Linked DNA regions of Homo sapiens: all the other regions are linked to region 4. Evidence: promoter capture Hi-C in human tissues and cell types (Jung and others, 2019). All regions are on one chromosome and are shown on one strand. The core of a region is centred on a gene start or on the middle of the fragment in contact, and the rest is flanking DNA. Distances in the headings are between cores, read along the strand shown. Region 1 overlaps TRAF2 (TNF receptor associated factor 2). Region 2 overlaps RABL6 (RAB, member RAS oncogene family like 6). Region 3 holds the start of PNPLA7 (patatin like domain 7, lysophospholipase). Region 4 holds the start of TUBB4B (tubulin beta 4B class IVb).

Region 1 (5,510 bases), core at 1,165-3,664, 350 kb after region 4:
GTGCGGTGGCTCACGCCTGTAATCCCAGCACTTTGGGAGGCCGAAGCAGGCAGATCACGAGGTCAAGAGATCGAGACCATCCTGGCCAACATGGTGAAACCCTGTCTCTACTAAAAATACAAAAATTAGCCGGACATTGTGGTGTGTGCCTGTAATCCCAGCTACTGTGGAGGCTGAAGCAGGAGAATTGCTTGAACCCAGCAAGCAGAGGTTGCAGTGAGCTGAGATCATACCACTTCACTCCAGCCTGGGCGATGAGGCAAGACTCCATTTCAAAAAAAAAAAAAAAAAGGCCAGGCGCAGTGGCTCACACCTGTAATCCCAGCACTTTCGGAGGCCAAGGCAGGAGAATCACGAGGTCAGGAGTTTGAGACCAGCCCGACCAACATGGTGAAACCCCATCTCTAGTAAAAATACAAAAATTAGCCGGGCGTGGTGGTGCACGCCTGTAATCCCAGCTACTCAGGAGGCTGAGGCAGGAGAATCGCTTGAACCCGGGAAGGAGAGGTTGCAGTGAGCCGATATTGCACCACTGCACTCCAGCCTGCGCATTGCAGTGAGACTCCGTCTCGAAAAAAAAAGTAAAAAAGAAAAAGGGTCACTACCACACAGACCCCAAATAGGAGGTGCTTTTTAAGTCAGAAAAACTTAGGCCCCAAGACAACCATCCTCAGCTCTCTGCAAACATTCCCCAAAGTTTCCTTGACCTGGCTCACCAACGAAAGCACATTCCAAGTGTCTTCCCCAGACGGTGCGCCAACCCTGCAGACCCATGGGGCTGGCCCCTCTAATCCTCTACAGGAGAGACACGTGGACTGCCAAAACTGACGCCGCATACAGGACTGGGGAACGCAGAGTGCAGCGACCTCATCCCTGACCTGCGCTCACTGACCTGAATAGGGCTGACTCTTGAGAAACTGTGACGAGACTGTCAGTCACCTGTCTGCCCCCCAAAGCCAGCAGTGGTGTGCTTTCAATCCCAGCTTCTGAATCTGTAATTTAGTGAGACCTTACATTCGTGTGGCACTTCAGAGTTCAGAAAACATGCTTATAACCTAAACTTACTCCTCCAACCACCCAACAGAAGGGACGCTGGGGCTCTGCCTGCCCAGTGCTCAAGGTCCCTCGGTGGGGACGCCACACCTGTTTCTCCCACTTTCTCGAAGGTGGGTGCACCTGCTCCTGTGGGCGGCAGAGCTATGTGGATGTTCCGGAGCTCACAGATGCATACCAGCCGTGGCAAACTGAGGTGGTAGCCTGCTCACCAGGACTGCACCCTCAGCGCACATTCATCATGACATGTGGAGACGTGCTACATACATGTACGTCACTAAAAGGTTCACAGAACTACACTTAGTCTTCATAAGAGGCATTCTGAGTGTTCTATTTTCTTTCTTTTGTTCTGGTCAGAAGCTATTACATTGATTTCATGAGCCACTAATGGTTTATTTATTTATTCATGTGAGACAGAGTCTTGCTCTGTCGCTCAGGCGGGAGTGCAACGGTGTGATCTAAGGTGCAACCTCCGCCTCCCAGGTTCAAGCGATTCTCCTGCCTCAGCCTCCCGAGTAGCTGGGATTACAGACGCCTGTCACCACGCCTGGCTAATTTTTGTATTTTTAGTAGAGACAGGGTTTCACCATGTTGGCCAGGCTGGTCTCGAACTCCTGACCTCAGATAATCTGCCCACCTCAATCTCCCAAAGTGCTGAGATTATAGGCATGAGCCACTGTGCCTGGCTGAGCCACTAACAGTTTAAAAAGGTTTAATGGTTTTAGAACAAAGTGGCTTCTAATCCACTTTGGACAAAGAAATTTTCTATTTTTAAGTATCATTGGTTTTTAAGCCACATTCTTTTTATTTATTTATTTTTTTGAGACGGAGTCTCGCTCTGTCGCCCAGGCGGGAGTGCAGTGGCGCGATCTTGGCTCACTGCAACCTCCACCGCCCAGGTTCACGCCATTCTCCTGCCTCAGCCTCCCAAGTAGCTGGGACTACAGGCACCAGTCACCATGCCCAGCTAATTTTTTGTATTTTTTAGTAGAGACGGGGTTTCACCGTGTTAGCCAGGATGGTCTCGATCTCCTGACCTCGTGATCTGCCCGCCTCGGTCTCCCAAAGTGCTGGGATTACAGGCGTGAGCCACCGCGCCTGGCCTTAAACCACATTCTTTAGGACAAAATCCTATTTTATACTTATTATAAGATGTTAAATAGGATATAAAATGTGAAGAACCCTATGAGTGCAGTCATGCCAGTGTACGAATGGGGCAAGAAAGTAAAATAAAGGATCGTTTTGCTAGGGTAGACAGATTCAGAATGGGCCGGGCACGGTGGCTCATGCCTGTAATCCCAGCACTTTGGGAGGCTGAGGCGGGTGGATCACCTGAGGTGGTGATCGAGACCAGCTTGACCAACATGGAGAAACCCATTTCTACTAAAAACACAAAATTAGCCGAGTGCAGTGGCTCACGCCTGTAATTCCAGCTACTTGGGAGGCTGAGGCAGGAGAATCGCTTGAACCTGGGAGGCAGAGGTTGCAGAGAGTCAAGATCGCACCACTGCTCTCCAGCTTGGGCACAAAGAGCGAAACTTCGTCTCAAAAAAAAAAAAAAGATTCAGGGTGAGCGTTCTTTTTTCCCAATGTCACTGAAGAGTGTCCTGGTGCATCTTTCAGACAAAGCTTGATTCTTTTCATATCGACATTCCTCCTAAATGCGCTCTTGAAGGTGGAGACAGAGGTGTGCCCTCCCTGCCCTAGGCATGCCTGTCAGACATAAAAGAACCACAAAAATGGGCCAGGCATGGTGGCTCACACCTATAATCCCAGCACTTTGGGAGGCCGAGGTAGGCAGATTGCTTGAGCTCAGGAGTTCAAGACCAGCCTGGGGAACATGATGAAACCCTGTCTCTACCAAAAACACAAAAAAATGGCTGGGCGCGGTGGCTCACACTTGTAATCCCAGCACTTTGGGAGGCCGAGGCGGGCGGATCATGAGGTCAGGAGTTCAAGACCAGGCTGGCCAACATGGTGAGACCCCGTCTCCACTAAAAATACAAAAAATTAGCCAGGCATGGTGGTGCAAGCCTGTAAGCCCAGCTACTCCAGAGGCTGAGGCAGAAGAATCGCTCAAACCTGAGAGGCGGAGGTTGCAGTGAGCTGAGATCATGCCACTGCACTCCAGCCTGAGCAAGAGCAACCATCTGTCTCAAAAACAAAACACACATAAAAAAACAAATCTAAAAATACAAAAAATGGCCAAGTGTGATGGCATGCATCTGTGGTCCCAGCTACTCAGGAGGCCGAGGTGGGAGGATCTCGCATCTGTGGTCCCAGCCACTCAGGAGGCTGAGGTGGGAGGATCACCTGAGCCTGGGGAGGAGGAGGCTGCAGTGAGCCGAGGTTCACAACAAAGTGCACGTCCTCCACCACCGGCAGACGCTTCTCACAGACACGGCCTCACGTGGCCATCGTGACATCCTGACACGGCTGGAAGGTCGGGGATCATTATTCCTGTTTCCAAATGAAAACACAACCCCAGACAGCCAGGACACGGCAGGCAGCCCGGTCAGGGGACCCTGAGGTCCCACTGATGCCCACACTACACTCTGGGGTTCTTTGTGCTTAGAGATTCCTTAAACATTTTATTTGAATCTCATTCATAAATACATTTTAAGAACTAATGAAAACCACCACGAAGGCTCAAAAGTGCTACACCAAGATTTTAGCACACTTCTGACAGTGCCCCAATTTGCGCACATGTTGGAATCCGACTTCCACTGTGCCTAGCACTTACCAGAACCTCCTCCGGCTTAGACTAGGGAGCTCTCAGTGGCCTACACACGAGGCAGGAGGAACTGAACTGAACACCATGGTCACCTGAACCAGACACACAGACTGAGACCTGGTGCGCGGCCGGACGGCATGGGCTGCTCTTGCTTTCTGTACGTATCATAAGAGACGTGAGGGGTCAGCTAGGAGCGATTCAACCTGGAAACGAACAATGTGCTGCTGGTTTTTTCAGGCTTCCAGATCAGTTTTACTCTAAAACTCCCAATTCTATCAGCTAAGTCAGCTAAAAACAAAAGTGCCACCCCCGTGGTGACCAGCTGAACGAGCGTGTGGTGGGGACTCTCACACATGCGGTGACCGACTGAACGAGCGTGCGGTGGGGACTCTCACACACACGGTGACCGGCTGAACGAGCGTGCAGTGGGGACTCACACGCGGTGACCGGCTGAACAAGCGTGCGGTGGGGACTCACACACGCGGTGACCGGCTGAACGAGCGTGCGGGGGGGACTCACACACGCGGTGACCGGCTGAACGAGCGTGCGGTGGGGACTCTCACACACGCGGTGACCGGCTGAACGAGCGTGCGGTGGGGACTCTCACACACGCGGTGACGAGCTGAACAAGCATGCGGGGGTGATTATCACACATGCGGTGACCGACTGAATGAGCATGCGGGGATGACTGTCACAAATGTAGTGACCGACTGAATGAGCATGCAGGGGCGACTCTCACACAAGTGGTGACCGACTGAATAAGTGTGGGGGGAACTCTCACACATGCGGTGACCAACTGACACAGTGGCTTGCACCTGTAATCCCAGCTACTTGGGAGGCTGAGGTTGGAGGATCACTTCAGGCCAGGAGTTCGAGACCAGCCTGGGAAACATAACAAGACCTCAGGTATAAAAATAAAATAACAAAAAAGTTAAAATGGCAAAGAAATGTCAAAAACAGGTTTTAAGGCCGGGCAAGGTGGCTCATACCTGTAATCCCAGCACTTTGGGAGTGCCAAGGCAGGTGGATCACCTGAGGTCAGGAGTTCGAGACCAGCCTCACCAAAGTGGAGAAACCCTGTCTCTATTAAAAACACAAAAATTAGCCGGGCATTATGGTGGGTGCCTGTAATCCCACCTACTCTGGAGGATGAGGCAGGAGAATCACTTGAACCTGGGAGGCAGAGGTTGCAGCGAGCCGAGATCGCACCATTGCACTCCAGCCTGGGCAACAAGAGCGAAACTCTGTCTCAAAAAAAGAAAAAAAAAGGCCAGGCGTGGTGGCTCACACCGGGGGACAGAGCGAGACTCCGTCTCAAAAAAAAAAAAAAAACAGAAAAAACCACACAAACAAAAAAAGAAAAACAAACAAACAAGTTTTAACGTAAAAAAGCCCCTCAGTGGTGGCTCACACCTGTAATCCCAGCACTCTGGGAGGCCGAGGTGGGCGGATCACGAGATCAGATCGAGACCACCCTGGCTAACATGGTGAAACCCCGTCTCCATTAAAAATACAAAAAATTAGCTGGGCGTGGTGGCGGGTGCCTGTAGTCCAGCTACTCGGGAGGCTGAGGCAGAAGAATAGCGTGAACCCAGGAGGCAGAGGTTGCAGTGAGCCGAGATCGTGCCACTGCACTCCAGCCGGGTGACAGAGCGAGACTCCCCTCCACAGGAGAGTGGGGGCATCTGGCACCCTTGTTGCTGGTAGGGCCGAGCTGTGTGTT
Region 2 (5,674 bases), core at 460-2,959, 430 kb after region 4:
GGTGACGATGATGAAGAGGATGAAGTGATGAAGACGACAAAGAGGAGGAAGGGTCTGTCAAAGAAGCACCTGGAAAATGAAGGAAATGACCAAACAGCAGCTTCTGAAGCCAAGAAACACAAAGTGGAGAGTGAGAAGCACAGAACCAACTGTGCCTTTTTTTTTTTTTTAAGACAGGGTCTCACTCTCTCGCCCAGGTTGGACTGCAGTGGCGCAATCTTGGCTCACTGCAACCTTCACCTGCCAGGCTCAAGTGATTCTCCTGCTTCAGCCTCCTGAGTAGCTGGGATTACAGGCGTGTACCACTACCACCCGGCTAATTTTTGTATTTTTAGTAGAGACGGGGTTTCACCATGTTGGCCAGGCTGGAACGTCTTTCAATCTTTGTTGGAAACCTGAACTTTAACAAGTCTGCTCCTGAGTTAAAAACTAGTATCCATGGGCCAGGCCTGGTGGCTCACGCCTGTAATCCCAGCACTTTGGGAGGCTGAGGTGGACAGATCACAAGGTCAGGAGTTTGAGACCAGCCTGGCCAACATAATGAAACCCTGTCTCTACTAAAAATACAAAAATTAGCCGGGCGTAGTGGTGCGTGCCTGTAGTCCCAGCTACTGGGGAGGCTGAGGCAGGAGAATCACTTGAACCCGGGAGGTGGAAGCTGCAGTGAGCACCATTGCACTCCAGCCTGGGTAACAGAGCAAGACCCTGTCTCGAAAAAGAAAGAAAAACAAAAACTAGTATCCATGATATTTTTGCTAAAAATGATCTTGCTGTTGTGGATGTCAGAATGGGTATGACAAGGAAATCTGACTATGTGGATTTTCAAGCTGCTGAAGACCTGGAAAGAGCCTTGGAACTCGCTGGTTTGAAAGACTTTGGCAATGAAATTAAACTAGAGAAACCAAAAGGAAAAGACAGTAAGAAAGAGCAAGATGTGAGAATACTTTTGGCTACAAATCTCCCTTACAAAGTCACTCAGGATGAATTACAAGTGTTTTGGCTGGGCGCAGTGGCGCAGTGGCTCACACCTGTAATCCCAGCACTTTGGGAGGCCAAGGCAGGCAGATCACGAGGTCAGGAGATCAAGACCATCCTGGCTAACACGGTGAAACCCTGTCTCTACTAAAAATACAAAAAATTAGCTGGGTGTGGTGACGGGTGCCTGTAGTCCCAGCTACTCGGGAGGCTGAGGCAGGAAAATGGCGCAAACTTGGGAGGTGGAGCTTGCAGTGAGCTGAGATCACGGCCACTGCACTCCAGCCTGGGCAACAGAGCGAGACTCTGGCTCAAAAAACAAAAAAGTGTTTGAAGATGCTGTGGAGATTGGATTAGTCAGCAAGGATGGGAAGAGTAAAGGGACTGCTTATATTGAGGTTAAGACAGAAGCTAATGCAGAGAAAACTTCTGAAGAAACGCAGGGAACAGAGATGGATGGCCGATCTATTTCCCTGCACTATCATGGAGAGAAAGGTCTAAATCAAGACTAGAGAGACCACTTGGAGGGGTGAATCAAAAACTCTGGTTTAAGCAACCTCTCCTACAGTGCAACAGAAGAAACTCTTCAGAAAGAATCTGAGACAAGGCAACTTTTATCAAAGTGCCCCAGAACCAAAATGGCAAATCTAAAGGGTGTGCATGCACTTACAGTTCGCTTCATTTGAAGATGATAAAGCAGCTTTAAATTCCTGTAATAAAAGGGAAACTGGGGGCAGGGCAATCAGGCTGGAGTTGCAAGGACCACCTGATGCCAGGAGCCAGCCATCTAAAACTGTCTGTCAAAGGCCTGTCTGAGGACACCACTGAAGAGGCTTTAGTCATTCGACAGCTTTGTTGGGCAAGGGTAGTCACCAACCAGGAAACCGGGTGCCCCAAAGGCTTTGGCTCTGTAGATGGCAACAGTGAGGAGGATGCCAAAAGCGCCAAGGAGGCCGCGGAAGATGGTGAAATTGAGGGAAACAAAGGTAACTTGGACTGGGCCAAACCTAAGGGCGAAGGTGGCTTTGGGGTTGTGATGGAGGTAGAGGAAGCTTTGGAGGATGAGGTGGTGGCAGAAGCCAGGAAGGCTTTGGTGGGCGAGGCAGCTTCTGGGGAGGCAGAGGTGACCACAAGCCACAAGGAAAGAAGACAAAGTTTGAACGGCTTCTGTCCCTTTGTCTTTCCCTCTCCCATTTGAAAGAAAGGACGCTGGGGTTTTTATTCCGTTACCTGATCAATGACAGAGCTCTCTGAGGACATTCCAAGACAGTCTACAGTCCTGTGGTCTCCTTGGAAATTCGTATAGACAACATTTCAAGGGTAATACCTTCCTTGTTTGTTTTGACTGGATATTCATATAAACTTTTCTTTCTTTTCTTTTTTTTTTAAGACGAAGTCTCACTCTGTCGCCCAGGCTGGAGCGCAGTGGTGTGATCTTGGCTCACGGCAACCTCTGCCTCCCGGGTTCAAGCGATTCTCCTGCCTCAGCCTCCCGAGTAGCTGGGATTACAGGCATACGCCACCACACCTGGCTAATTTTCATATTTTCAGTAGAGATGAGTTTCATCATGTTGGCCAGGTTGGTCTTGAACTCCTGACCTCATGTAATCCGCCCACCTCAGCCTCCCAAAGTGCTGGGATTACAGGTGTGAGCCACCGTGCCCGGCCTGCTAAGTCCCATTTCTAAATTCGCACCAGTGTCTACTCAGAGAGGACTCTGGTTGTCCGAGCTCCTGGGCCAGGCCAGTATCAGAGCTGCACAATAATGCTCACTCAGGAGCAACTCCACAGAAAAATTCTGCACCAAATACAACTGATATTTTGTGTCCAGTCACAGTAGAAAGGGACAGACCAACTCAGGCAACAATCTTTCTTCCAAATAATTTCAAATAATTTTCCTAATAATTTTATATGCAAATAATTTCAAAATTGTGTAAACCAAAATTAAAATCCCAAGGCCTGCCAACCATCTGAATGGACTTCCTCTTCTAGGCCAGGGCCATCCAAATTTCATCTGAAAGACTGGTTCAGGCCATTATGGGAAGAGGGGAGTCAGACAGGCCTCATTGTGGCCTCCTCCCTTCTGGAATTCAGGAAAAGCTCACCAGCATTTAACATCAACACTGACTTTAAGTCTGATAAGAAACATAATCTGGCCAGGCGCGGTGGCTCACGCCTGTAATCCCAGCACTTTGGGAGGCCAAGGGGTTCGGACTGCTTGAGTAGAGGGGTCTGAGCCCAGCTGGGCAACGTGGTGAAACCCTGTCTCTCTAAAAAATACCAAAATTAGCTGGGTGTGGTGGTGCAATTGTTTTTTTTTTTTTTTTTGAGACAGGGTCTGACTCTGTCACCCAGGCTGGAGTGCAGTGGCACAATCTCAGCTCACTGTAACTTCTGCCACTTGGGCTCAAGCGATTCTCCCGCCTCAGCCTCCTGAGTAGCTGGGATTACAGGCACCCACCATCACACCCGGTTAATTTTTATAGTTTTAGTAGAGACGGGGTTTCGACATGTTGGCCAGGCTGGTCTTGAACTCCTGGCCTCAGGTTGTCCGCCTGCCTCGGCCTCTCAATGTGCTGAGATTACAGGCGTGAGCCACCGCGCCCGGCAAAAAAACACAATTTTTTTAAACTACCTCCGACCTGGAAGCCCCCACTTCAAGTTGTCCCGCCTTTGTGGACCAAATCAACATATATCTTAAATGTATTTGATTACTGTCTCATGTCTAAAATGTATAAAACCAAGCTGTGCCCTCCACCTTGGGCACATGTCCTCAGGGTCACCTGAGGGCTATGTCACGAGCCATGGTCACTCATATTCAGCTCAAAAATAAATCTCTTCAAATATTTGACAGAGTTTGACTTTTTCATCCATTATGGTCCAATGTCTCATTCGAGTTTTTATTCTAAAACCAGTGGGTGTCCCACACGTCTACCGGGACCACTAGCAACTCCGAGCAAATGCAGGGCCCAGGAGGAGAGCCCAGACTCCTGGAAACCCGCAGCAGTTCCCAGAAACTCTCACCCCCAAAACCCTCGACTCTGTCTTGATCACATTGCTGGTCTGTTACGCTCTGTAAAATATTTGAGAAAATAAATACCAGAAAGCCGGGCATGGTGGCTTACGCCTGTAATCCCAGCACTTTGAGAGGCTGAGGCGGGCAGATCACGAGGTCAGGAGATTGAGACCATCCTGGCTAACACGGTGAAATCCTGCCTCTACTAAAAATACAAAAAATTAGCCGGGCGTGGTGGCCGGTGCCTATAGTCCCAGCTACTCGGGAGGCTGAAGCAGGAGAATGGTGTGAACCCGGGAGGAGGAGCTTGCAGTGAGCTGAGATCACGCCACTGCACTCCAGCCTGGGAGACACAGCAAAACGCAAAACTCTGTCTCAAAAAAGAAAAGAAAAGAAAAGAAATACTAGAAACTTTCTATTCTAACACAGAAACTCAAAAGTTTTAAAATTGCATGTTATTCAGCTATAAAGATAACATCTTTCTAAAATGTAATTTAGGTACAAATTCAAATTTCTCTCTGTCTCACCACCTTTCATTCAGTTCTAGGAGATCATAACCTGTTCTCCAAGTACTGGAGACTGGCTTTTCTCCTCTGGAAGGACCCCATTGCCCTTTTTAGTCACACTCGCCCAGGACCACACAGGGGTGGTCCTGGTGCATGAGGTGGACCTTGCCCAGGACCCTCGGGGAGCCTTTTCAGAAGGTGAACAGTTTCCAGGTCCAGGCCTGATTTCCCAGGGACTAATACTGAGCTTAGCCAATACTGTAAGCAATAAAATTAAATAAAGGATCCAAACGCAGAGTCTAAAAACTGGCGTAAACTCAGTTATTTTGACTCAATATTCTCTTCTCCGAATGCCAGCTATGTATAAAGTTTCAATTATAACACATTTAAAATCAGCTTTTATTTTTATTCAAAATGCACCACTTTATTTTCCTTACCAGACAGCCAAGCATTAAGCACGTTCCAGTCACGTGACTTCTTCAGCGAGCCCCCAGGCTTCCACTCCACGGGAGTCTGGGAGCTCCTGGACAGAGGAGTCCTGAGATTTCAAATAGTCAAGCCTTCTCCCCAGCCACAAGTTCCTTTGATGCTTGGGTTACTGAACACAAACGCAATGGATTGTTTGTCTTCAACATAATCCGTTTCTGTTCCTAAACGTGTTGGCTGCGCTTTCTTTCTGATGAGCACGCTGACTCTAATTTGAACTTCATCAAAATCTTCTTTGTCGTCGTATGTTCTAGAGTATAAGAAAAGCCAATACGGCCCTTGGTTCGGACATCAACTTTCTTTTAAATTTTTTTTTCGTATTTTTAGTAGAGACGGTGTTTCACTATGTTGGCCAGGCTGGTCTCGAATTCCTGACCTCGTGATCTGCCCGCCTTGGCCTCCCAAAGTGCTGGGATTACAGGCATGAGCCACCGTGCCCGGCCCGGACACCAACTTTCATACCTAGATGCTCAGACTTATCTTTAAGAAGTTGTTTTATCTTGCTTACTGCTAAAGGTGTCTGGGTGAGGGTGGCCCGAGTGGTCTGCAGCTTCCTCTTGCTCACAGGCCGGGGGACTAAGGAAGGCGACATCTTCACTGTCCTCCTGGACTAGCTCCAGCCCCAGGAACTACGGCCTCTCTCCGTGCACACGGCACGCGAATTCATGAACTTGCTTTTAAACCTGCACAA
Region 3 (2,500 bases), core at 1-2,500, 310 kb before region 4:
CTGGCGGATGAGTGATCGCTCTCAGCGCGGTGGTCCCTGGCGTCTCCACTGCCCGCCACTGCCTGTGTTCGTCCGCCAGGTGGCCGGCGGTTTCCCGGGAGCCCAGTCCCCCTGAGGCCGTGAGGTGGCGTCGGGAGGTCGGGGAGGACGCGGGCCCTGGACTCGAGACGGCCGCCGCGTTGACGCCGCGACCCTGCCTTTCTTACCCCTCCGCCGGGCGCGGCTCCTCTGGGCGGAGCCGGCAACCGCGCGGGGAAAGCCCGGGACCTGCAGCCGGGAGGGCCCGGGCTGTCTGTGCTCCCCCGCAGGCCGGGCAGTGGTGTGGGGGGACTCGAGCCCTCGCGGTGCCCAAATTAATCAATAATCTTGGACCCAGCACGTCCGGCTTGCGCACTGAGCCCTCCTGCCCGGTCACCCTCGCAGGCGACCTCTCACCCCACGCGGAAGTCGCCCCCCAGCCGCACCCTCACAATCCGGATCCACCCCCTCCCCAGCTGCACCCCGTCCCCAGCGGCACCCCCACAGCCCAGATCCATCCCCTCTCCAGCTGCACGCCCTTCCCCAGCGGTACCCCCACACCCCAGATCCATCCCCTCCCCAGCTGCACCCCCTCCCCAGCGGCACCCCCACGCCCCAGATCCACCCCCTCCCCAGCTGCACCCCCTCCCCAGCGGCACCCCCACGCCCCAGATCCACCCCCTCCCCAGCTGCACCCCCTCCCCAGCGGCACCCCCACACCCCAGATCCACCCCCTCCCCAGCTGCACCCCCTCCCTAGCGGTACCCCCACTCGCCGGATCCACGCGCTCCCCAGCTGCACCCTCTCCCCAGCAGTACCCCCACACCCCAGATCCACCCCCTCCCCAGCTGCACCCACTCCCCAGCGGTACCCCTACACGCCGGATCCACCCCCTCCCCAGCTGCACCCACTCCCCAGCGGCACCCCCACACCCCAGATCCACCCCCTCCCCAGCTGCACCCACTCCCCAGCGGTACCCCTACACGCCGGATCCACCCCCTCCCCAGCTGCACCCTCCTCCCCAGCTGCATCCCCACACCCCGGATCCACGCCCCGCCAGCGTCACCTCCCCTCCAGCCGTGCTTCTCCAGAAGGCAGCGCTGCCCCCATCCCCGCCGCGCTGGGCCTGGCTCCTCTTGACCTGCTTGGATACGCCCCATCTGGCTGCTGTTCTGGGTTCCGGGACAGCCACGTGAGGGCTGTTTACAGAGGGAAGGAGGTGGCTCCTAGCAGATGACAGACACTTCTCAAAAGACAGCTTTTCTTCCTGGAGAACAGACTTTTTCAGCAGGATTTTCCTTTCAGTGAAACATAATTTGACTTGAAAGGAACCCAGGGAAAAGTGTCCAGGTGTGAGCATGAGCGGGTAGAGGTGTGCCCTTGTTTGCTTCAGGCTGTCTGCTTTTCGCCCCTGACTGTTTTTTCTGTTTCTGGCCATGGAGGAAGAGAAAGATGACAGCCCACAGGTATGTAACTCGGGGGACCAGATGCCTGGATTTCCCAGTTGGGGGGCATTTCTGGACCCAGAGAAGGGTCCTCTTGGCGTCTGCTCTGCCGCGCTCTTTGGCCCCGTGGCTTCTTGGCGCCTGAGGACTGTGGGAGTGGTGGATCTGGCCCCTCTCTGCTGCCTGTCACAGCTGCCAGCACTTGTTAGACGCGCCTGTCACAGCAGACAGCCAGTGGTGGCCCATGGGCATTGTTCACAGCGAGGGCAGCCAGCGGTGGCCCATGGGCATTGCCTGAGGCCTTGTCTTTTCTTCCCCTAAGGTCACAGTTGCTACTTCCAGTTCCTTTAGGACTTTGCCTGATGGTTTTGCTTAGAACCTTTTTCTGTGTTTTTTTTTTTCCCAAGACGGAGTCTCGCTCTGTCGCCCAGGCTGGTGTGCAATGGTGTGATCTTGGCTCACAGCAACCTCCGCCTCCTGGGTTCAGGCAATTCTGCCTCAGCCTCCCGGGTAGCTGGGACTACAGGCACCACGCCCGGCTAATTTTTGTATTCTTAGTAGAAACGGGGTTTCGCCATGTTGGCCAGGCTGGTCTTGAACTTTTTTTTTTTTTTTTTTTGAGACGGAGTCTTGCTCTGTCGCCCAAGCTGGATTGCAGTGGCACGATCTCAACTCACTGCAAGCTCTGCCTCCCAGGTTCACGCCATTCTCCTGCCTCGGCCTCCCAAGTAGCTGGGACTACAGGCGCCCACCACCACGCCCGGCTAATATTTTTTTGTATTTTCAGTAGAGACGGTGTTTCACTGTGTTAGCCAGGATGGTCTCGATTTCCTGACCTCGTGATCCGCCCGCCTTGGCCTCCCAAAGTGCAGGGATTACAGGCATGAGCCACCGTGCCCGGCCTAGTCTTGAACTCTTGACCTCATGATCTGCCCGCCTCGGCCTCCCAAAGTGCTGGGATTACAGGCGTGAGACACTGTGCCCAGCCCTAGAATCTTTTTCTTAGTCAAACATCTGTAGCCACATGGCAAAGGCCT
Region 4 (5,725 bases), core at 689-3,188:
TGTTTTGGACATTAAGCATTTGCTCATCCACCTCCTTCATGGACATGCGGCCCCTGAACACGGCGGCAACCGTCAGGTAGCGGCCATGGCGGGGGTCGCAGGCAGCCATCATGTTCTTGGCATCAAACATCTGCTGGGTGAGCTCGGGCACGGTCAGCGCCCGGTACTGCTGGCTGCCCCGGCTGGTCAGTGGGGCAAAGCCGGGCATGAAGAAGTGCAGCCGGGGAAACGGGACCATGTTCACAGCCAGCTTCCGCAGGTCAGCATTGAGCTGGCCTGGGAAGCGCAGGCAGGTGGTGACCCCACTCATGGTAGCAGACACCAGGTGGTTCAGGTCACCATAGGTGGGCGTGGTCAGCTTTAGGGTTCTGAAGCAAATGTCGTAGAGAGCTTCGTTATCAATGCAGTAGGTCTCGTCTGTGTTTTCTACGAGCTGGTGGACTGAGAGGGTGGCGTTGTAGGGCTCCACCACTGTGTCTGACACTTTGGGCGAAGGCACCACACTAAACGTGTTCATGATCCTGTCTGGGTACTCCTCCCGGATCTTGCTGATGAGGAGGGTACCCATCCCAGACCCAGTCCCCCCACCCAGGGAGTGGGTCAGCTGGAAACCCTGCAGGCAGTCACAGCTCTCAGCCTCCTTTCTCACAACATCCAGCACCGAGTCCACCAGCTCCGCGCCTTCTGTGTAGTGCCCCTTGGCCCAGTTGTTCCCAGCACCACTCTGACCTGTGAGAGAACACAGCTAATCATTTGTCAGCCAGGTAGACAGCACTACTGGTCACCGCCATGCGAAAAAAGCCGAGTGACATGGTGTGAGCTGACCACAGAATTCACCCTGGAGGTAGAGCAAACGGACCCTTCAAAGCCAAAAGACGGCAGCCTGCCCTGCTACGAATTAAGTCAGGGGCCAAACCTGACAGCTTAACAAACCCCTCCCCGGGGGGGCCACTGCCAATTCCCAAGGACAGAGGAACAGCCACTGCCCCAGCTCAGCTCCCTGCAGGGAGATTACGTGTGTGGCGGCTCCTCGCCTCGGCAGACAGCTGGACCTTGCTCCCAAAGCCGATTTAGTAGAGGGGATTGAGTGGCTCAGAGAAGAGGAGGGCGTCCAGGGGCCCCGGCTGCGCAGTTCCCACGGCGGTGCCCTTGGAGCAGCCCCTTGACCTTTGAGCCGCCGCCCAGTCCCCAGCCACGGCTCACCGAAAACGAAGTTGTCCGGCCGGAAGATCTGCCCGAAGGGCCCCGAGCGCACGGAGTCCATGGTGCCGGGCTCCAGATCCACGAGCACGGCGCGGGGCACGTACTTGCCGCCTGCGGGGACGGGAGGGCGTCAGCCAAGGCAGGGGCCGCGGGGTCCCCGGAGGGCGGTCGGGGAAGGGGCCGGGGCCTCACCGGTGGCCTCATTGTAGTACACGTTGATGCGTTCCAGCTGCAGGTCGCTGTCCCCGTGGTAGGTGCCCGTGGGGTCGATGCCGTGCTCATCGCTGATCACCTCCCAAAACTACAAGGGACGCGGGCGGGCCCGGGCGGGCCGGGGCTGAGTCACCGCGGCCGGTGCGCAGGGAGGCAGCCCCGCCCCGGACGGGCGCGGCAGCCCGGCCCTCCCCGCCCCTCCCCCGCCCCGCGCGCCCTGGCCGCCGGGTTCCTGGGGGCTTCGGTCGCCCGGCTCGGCCAATTCCCCGCGGAGGGGGCCCGGCGGCCGCAATGCGGGGGCGCCGCCCGGCCGCTGCTGCCGCCATCTTCCCCGGCCGCCCGCCCACACCGCCCGGCAGGCCCGCCTGGCCCCAGCGCCCCGGCAACTTACCTTGGCGCCGATTTGGTTGCCGCACTGCCCGGCCTGCAAGTGCACGATTTCCCTCATGATGGCGGCGGCGGCGGCGGGGAAGCAGGAGGAAGTAGACAAACAGCAGCAGAAGAGCGGGCGCGCAGAGTGCTACAACCGACGCTCCGCCAACGCTTATATACCCTCCCTGCCCGCCTCCGCTAGTCTCGGAATGGGCTGCCAGAACGAGGCTGGCAAGCTCCCTCGTTTGATTGGCCTTGCCCCCGTCAATCAAGCTGCCTAAGGTCCGCCTTTTTAAGCCAGTTTGGTCTTTATTGGTCAGCCGCAGCCTCCTATCTCCCTATCACAATCCCCCTCCTGGCGCCGCAGTGCTCCGTCCATTGGGTGTTTCAAATGATTGATTTGCCGTCTCATTGGCTGGCTGCCGGGAGCACGCCGCCAGGCTGGCGCTATTGGCTGCGCTGCTTCAGCGTCCTGGTAACCGCCGCAGTGCCGCGGCCGGCGCGCGGACGGGGTGGGGCGCAGGCGCGAGTGCGGGCTTCCGGTCGGGCGGCGGGCAGCTGCGCTGGGGGCGCCGAGGGAGGGCGGGCCCGACGGGCCTCGGGCAAGCGCAGTCTTGGCTCTGAGCCCGGGGCCTTTCGGGAGCCGGGAAGGGCAGGCTCGGTGGCGGCCCCACGTCCAGAGTTGCGCCCTCTCTGGCCTTGCGCCGGGACACGGCATCTGCGCGCTGGGCGGGTTCTGGAGCGGGGTCCGCACGGAGCGAGCCCGGGGCCTCCAGGCCGAGGAGGCTGCGATGCCTTAAAGGCAGGAAGATACACGGGCTCGGGGGCTGCGGCGGTGGAGGGGAGCTCTCCACAGAGCCGCAGAGGCCACGGAGTTTCCTGCTCCCGGGTGCCGCACGCCCACTGCCCTCGCGGTCGCGTGAGGGGAGCACGTGGGGGACGCCGCGCCCCGAGGGCCGGGGCGGAGGGCAGGGGAGGGGAGCGGAGGGGCGAGGCCTCCCCCGCAGCTGCGCGCCCTGCCCTGTTGTGGAGACGGCGCTGGCTCTGCGCCGGTCGCCTTGGTGCCTCGGCCCCGTGAGTGCGCGAGCTCCGTGGAGACCAGGACAGCGCCCAGACCTCCCTCGGCGGGTGGGCCCCGACCTCCGGGCTCCAGGGCCGGTATTCCAACCACAGGTCAGCGCGCTGGGGCTGAAACATACTTCTGTTAATGCTTTTCCTAATTTATGACTTGATTTTTACTTGGGTGGGAAAAGAAACTTAAAATGAATTACATGTGGTTGCGCCTGTTTAAAAACAAACGGGCTGTATTTTTGCAGCATTTTTATTTTACTTAATTTATTATTCTGAGACAGAGTCTCGCTCTGTCTCCCGGGCTGGAGTGCAGTGGCGCGATCTTGGCTCCCCGCCCCCCCCCAGGTTCAAGCGATTCTTCTGCCTCAGCCTCCCCAGTAGGTGGGACTGCAGGCACCCACCACCACGCCGCTAATTTTTGTATTTTTGGTAGAAATGGGATTTCACCATGTTGGCCAAGCTGGTCTGAAACTCCTGACCTCAAGTGATCCGCCCGCCTCGGCCTCCCCAAGTGCTCGGATTTACGGGAATGAGCCGCCGTGCCTTCTACATTTTTGTAGCTTTTTTCTTTTTTTTTTGAGATGGAGTTTTGCTCTTGTCGCCTAGGCTGGAGTGCAGTGGCGCAATCTCAGCTCGCTGCAACCTCTGCCTCCCCGGTTCAAGCAATTCGCCTGCCTCACCTTCCCAAGTAGCTGGAACTACAGGTGTGCACCACCACGCCTGGCTATTTTTTTTTTTTTTTTTTTTTGAGACAGAGTCTGGCTCCGTCGCTCAGGCTGGAGTGCAGTGGCATGATCTCGGCTCACTGCAACCTCCATCTCCCGGGTTCAAGCGATTCTCCTGCCTCAGCCTCCCGAGTAGCTGGGATTACAGGCGCCCGCCACCACGCCCGGCTAATTTCTGTATTTTTAATAGAGATGGGGTTTCACCATCTTGGCCAGGCTGGTCTGGAACTGACCTTGTGATTCATTCGCCTCGGCCTCCCAAAGTGCTGGGATTACAGGCATGAGCCACTGCACCTGGCTGTATTTTTGTAGCATTTTAAATAAATTACACCATCAGGTCGGCCCTGACAGTCTCCTGTGCTCTGGCCACTGGGCATCTGTCTCCCAATTGGAGGCTGTTGGAAACAACATCTGCTTATTTATTTCTCTCTTCCTGGAGGGACTGCACCTCTGTCTTCACCACATAATGCGCGATACCAGAACTCGGGACACGCAGCACCGGAGCATGCGCGGGGATCAGCATTGTCCTTCTGGGGCGAGGGCCTGCAGCTGTGCTCACTCCTCGGGGGTCTGTTGCCAGTTTGCCATCCTGTCCAGGAGGGTGGCCTCCCCCACAGATCAGCCCAGGAAGGCGGGCCTGGCTTCCAGTGACCACTGTGACACAGGCCTTGACCCTCAGAGGGACTGGGGTCCTGCAGCGGCCTGAGGGGTGCACAGGTTGCTGCCAGCCATCCCAGGTTTCTCCTAGTGCCCAGGGCATCCTGGGGTCCTGCAGAGTAGCTCAGCTGTCCAGGCAGTAGTCAGGGACATGTTGGAGTCTCATAACATTGAGTTGTCACAAAGGGGAGAAGGAGAAGCTCTGTTTTTTTCCTCAGTGAACTGTGCAGAGCCCAACTGAGGCTGCTCTTTGAGGTGTGTGGCATTCCTGCACCTTGTCAGAGTCTCCCAACCCCTCTCCAGTAAAGGCCCCTGCTTCCTGTGACCAGTGCCCACAGGGCTGGGAGGTCAGTGTGCCACCCGTTTCACAGGTGTCACCTGCCCAGGTGAGAGCCCCAGAGCTCGCCATGGCACCAGCTTGCCTACTTTGCCCTTGCATTGCCCTGGTGAGGTGGACACTGGCTGGGGACAAGACAGCAGTAGACACCCTGAAGCCTGGGCCTGAGCCCAACAAGGACAGCAGCCACCCCTGTTGCACAAAACTGGTTGGGGAAGGCTCTGTAGGTCCCACCCTGAGCCAAGGTGCCCTGCTGCAGGATGGAGAGGCGGGATAGTGTGGGGCAGGAGGACCAACTCCTGGGCCTGGGGTCTGTGGCCAGGCAGGATGTGGTCCAAGGAGGGCCAGAAGGGCAGGGAAGCGGGGCAGGCGTGGCTGTGGGAGTGCTGGGCACCTGCCCTCCTCCTCCTGCAGCTGTCGGAGGATCCACAACGAAGGCTCTGTTTACTGGTGGCCATGGTCCCAGTGGGAGGGTGTGTTACCGCCAGGCAGGGACAGCAGGCAGACAGTATTGGCTGCCTTAAAGGACCAGACGCCCAGCCTTTGTGGGAGGCCTCACCTGCCCTGGAAGGACAGGTGCATGGGGTGCTTCCTCCCTCTCTCCACAAGGGCCTCACTGATCCCCCCCCAAAGGACAGGGGAGCTCCCCGGCCCCTCAGGCTCCCCAGGGAGCTAGCCAGGCTTGTCCCCTACAGGGGTGCCAGACGGTTCTATGAGGCTGATGTCAGGTCCACAGGGGCGTCCTAGAATCACAGGGCTGTGAGAACCAAAGCTCTAGCTGCTGGGGGTCCCATTCTCACTGGAGCCCACCCCTGAGGCACCCCTGGCTCCCAGAGCAGGTGGTCACCTCCCTCGGTAGGTGAAACCAAGGCCCAGGAGGCCTAAGAGTTTGAGGGGTGGCTGGGGCAGAGGACCCAGGGAAGACTGGGGGCCAAGGGCACAGAGGGTCTGGGGGTCATGAGCAGGGGCAAAGGGAAACTGAGGGCAGAAAAGAACAGAGCCACAGAGGAGAAGTGGCCGTGGGGCCCCCTCAGGCCTCATCTTCCTGAGTGGCTGCACCTCTATCCCCTAGTGGGGTCTGACCAGGCAATCCTGGGAGGCTCTGGGAAGAGAGCTGCCCCCCAACAGGGCTGCAGTTCTGGAAGGG

The links. The method cuts DNA at HindIII sites, captures the fragments that hold promoters and counts their contacts. A contact is called where the count stands out against the background at its distance.
Region 1: a fragment that was not itself captured here is called in contact with the fragment with the promoter of TUBB4B in region 4 in 1 of the 25 tissues and cell types used here (dorsolateral prefrontal cortex).
Region 2: a fragment that was not itself captured here is called in contact with the fragment with the promoter of TUBB4B in region 4 in 1 of the 25 tissues and cell types used here (dorsolateral prefrontal cortex).
Region 3: a contact is called between the fragment with the promoter of PNPLA7 here and the fragment with the promoter of TUBB4B in region 4, in 1 of the 25 tissues and cell types used here (spleen).

Annotation. Positions count from the first base shown.
Region 1 is chr9:136,888,829-136,894,338 of GRCh38, reverse strand. The region is part of intron 1 of TRAF2 (TNF receptor associated factor 2); the gene reads right to left. Among named protein-coding and RNA genes, the nearest start is that of MIR4479, 4.9 kb to the right of the region's middle. The HindIII fragment of the contact is 4,380 bases long and covers 225-4,604 here.
Region 2 is chr9:136,809,247-136,814,920 of GRCh38, reverse strand. The region is part of intron 1 of RABL6 (RAB, member RAS oncogene family like 6); the gene reads right to left. It also overlaps the pseudogene LOC100422233 and the pseudogene NCLP1. Among named protein-coding and RNA genes, the nearest start is that of CCDC183-AS1, 3.2 kb to the right of the region's middle. The HindIII fragment of the contact is 4,462 bases long and covers 1-3,940 here.
Region 3 is chr9:137,549,152-137,551,651 of GRCh38, reverse strand. PNPLA7 (patatin like domain 7, lysophospholipase) reads left to right here and starts at 1,250. Exons shown (of 35, transcript NM_001098537.3): 1 at 1,250-1,484. The coding sequence starts at 1,455. RefSeq lists a silencer at 1-451 and an enhancer at 1,640-2,141. The HindIII fragment of the contact is 18,703 bases long and covers 1-2,500 here.
Region 4 is chr9:137,237,500-137,243,224 of GRCh38, reverse strand. TUBB4B (tubulin beta 4B class IVb) reads right to left here and starts at 1,938. Exons shown (of 4, transcript NM_006088.6): 1 at 1,808-1,938; 2 at 1,396-1,504; 3 at 1,204-1,314; 4 at 1-729. The coding sequence starts at 1,864. RefSeq lists silencers at 1,534-1,763, 2,094-2,913. The HindIII fragment of the contact is 17,682 bases long and covers 1-3,383 here.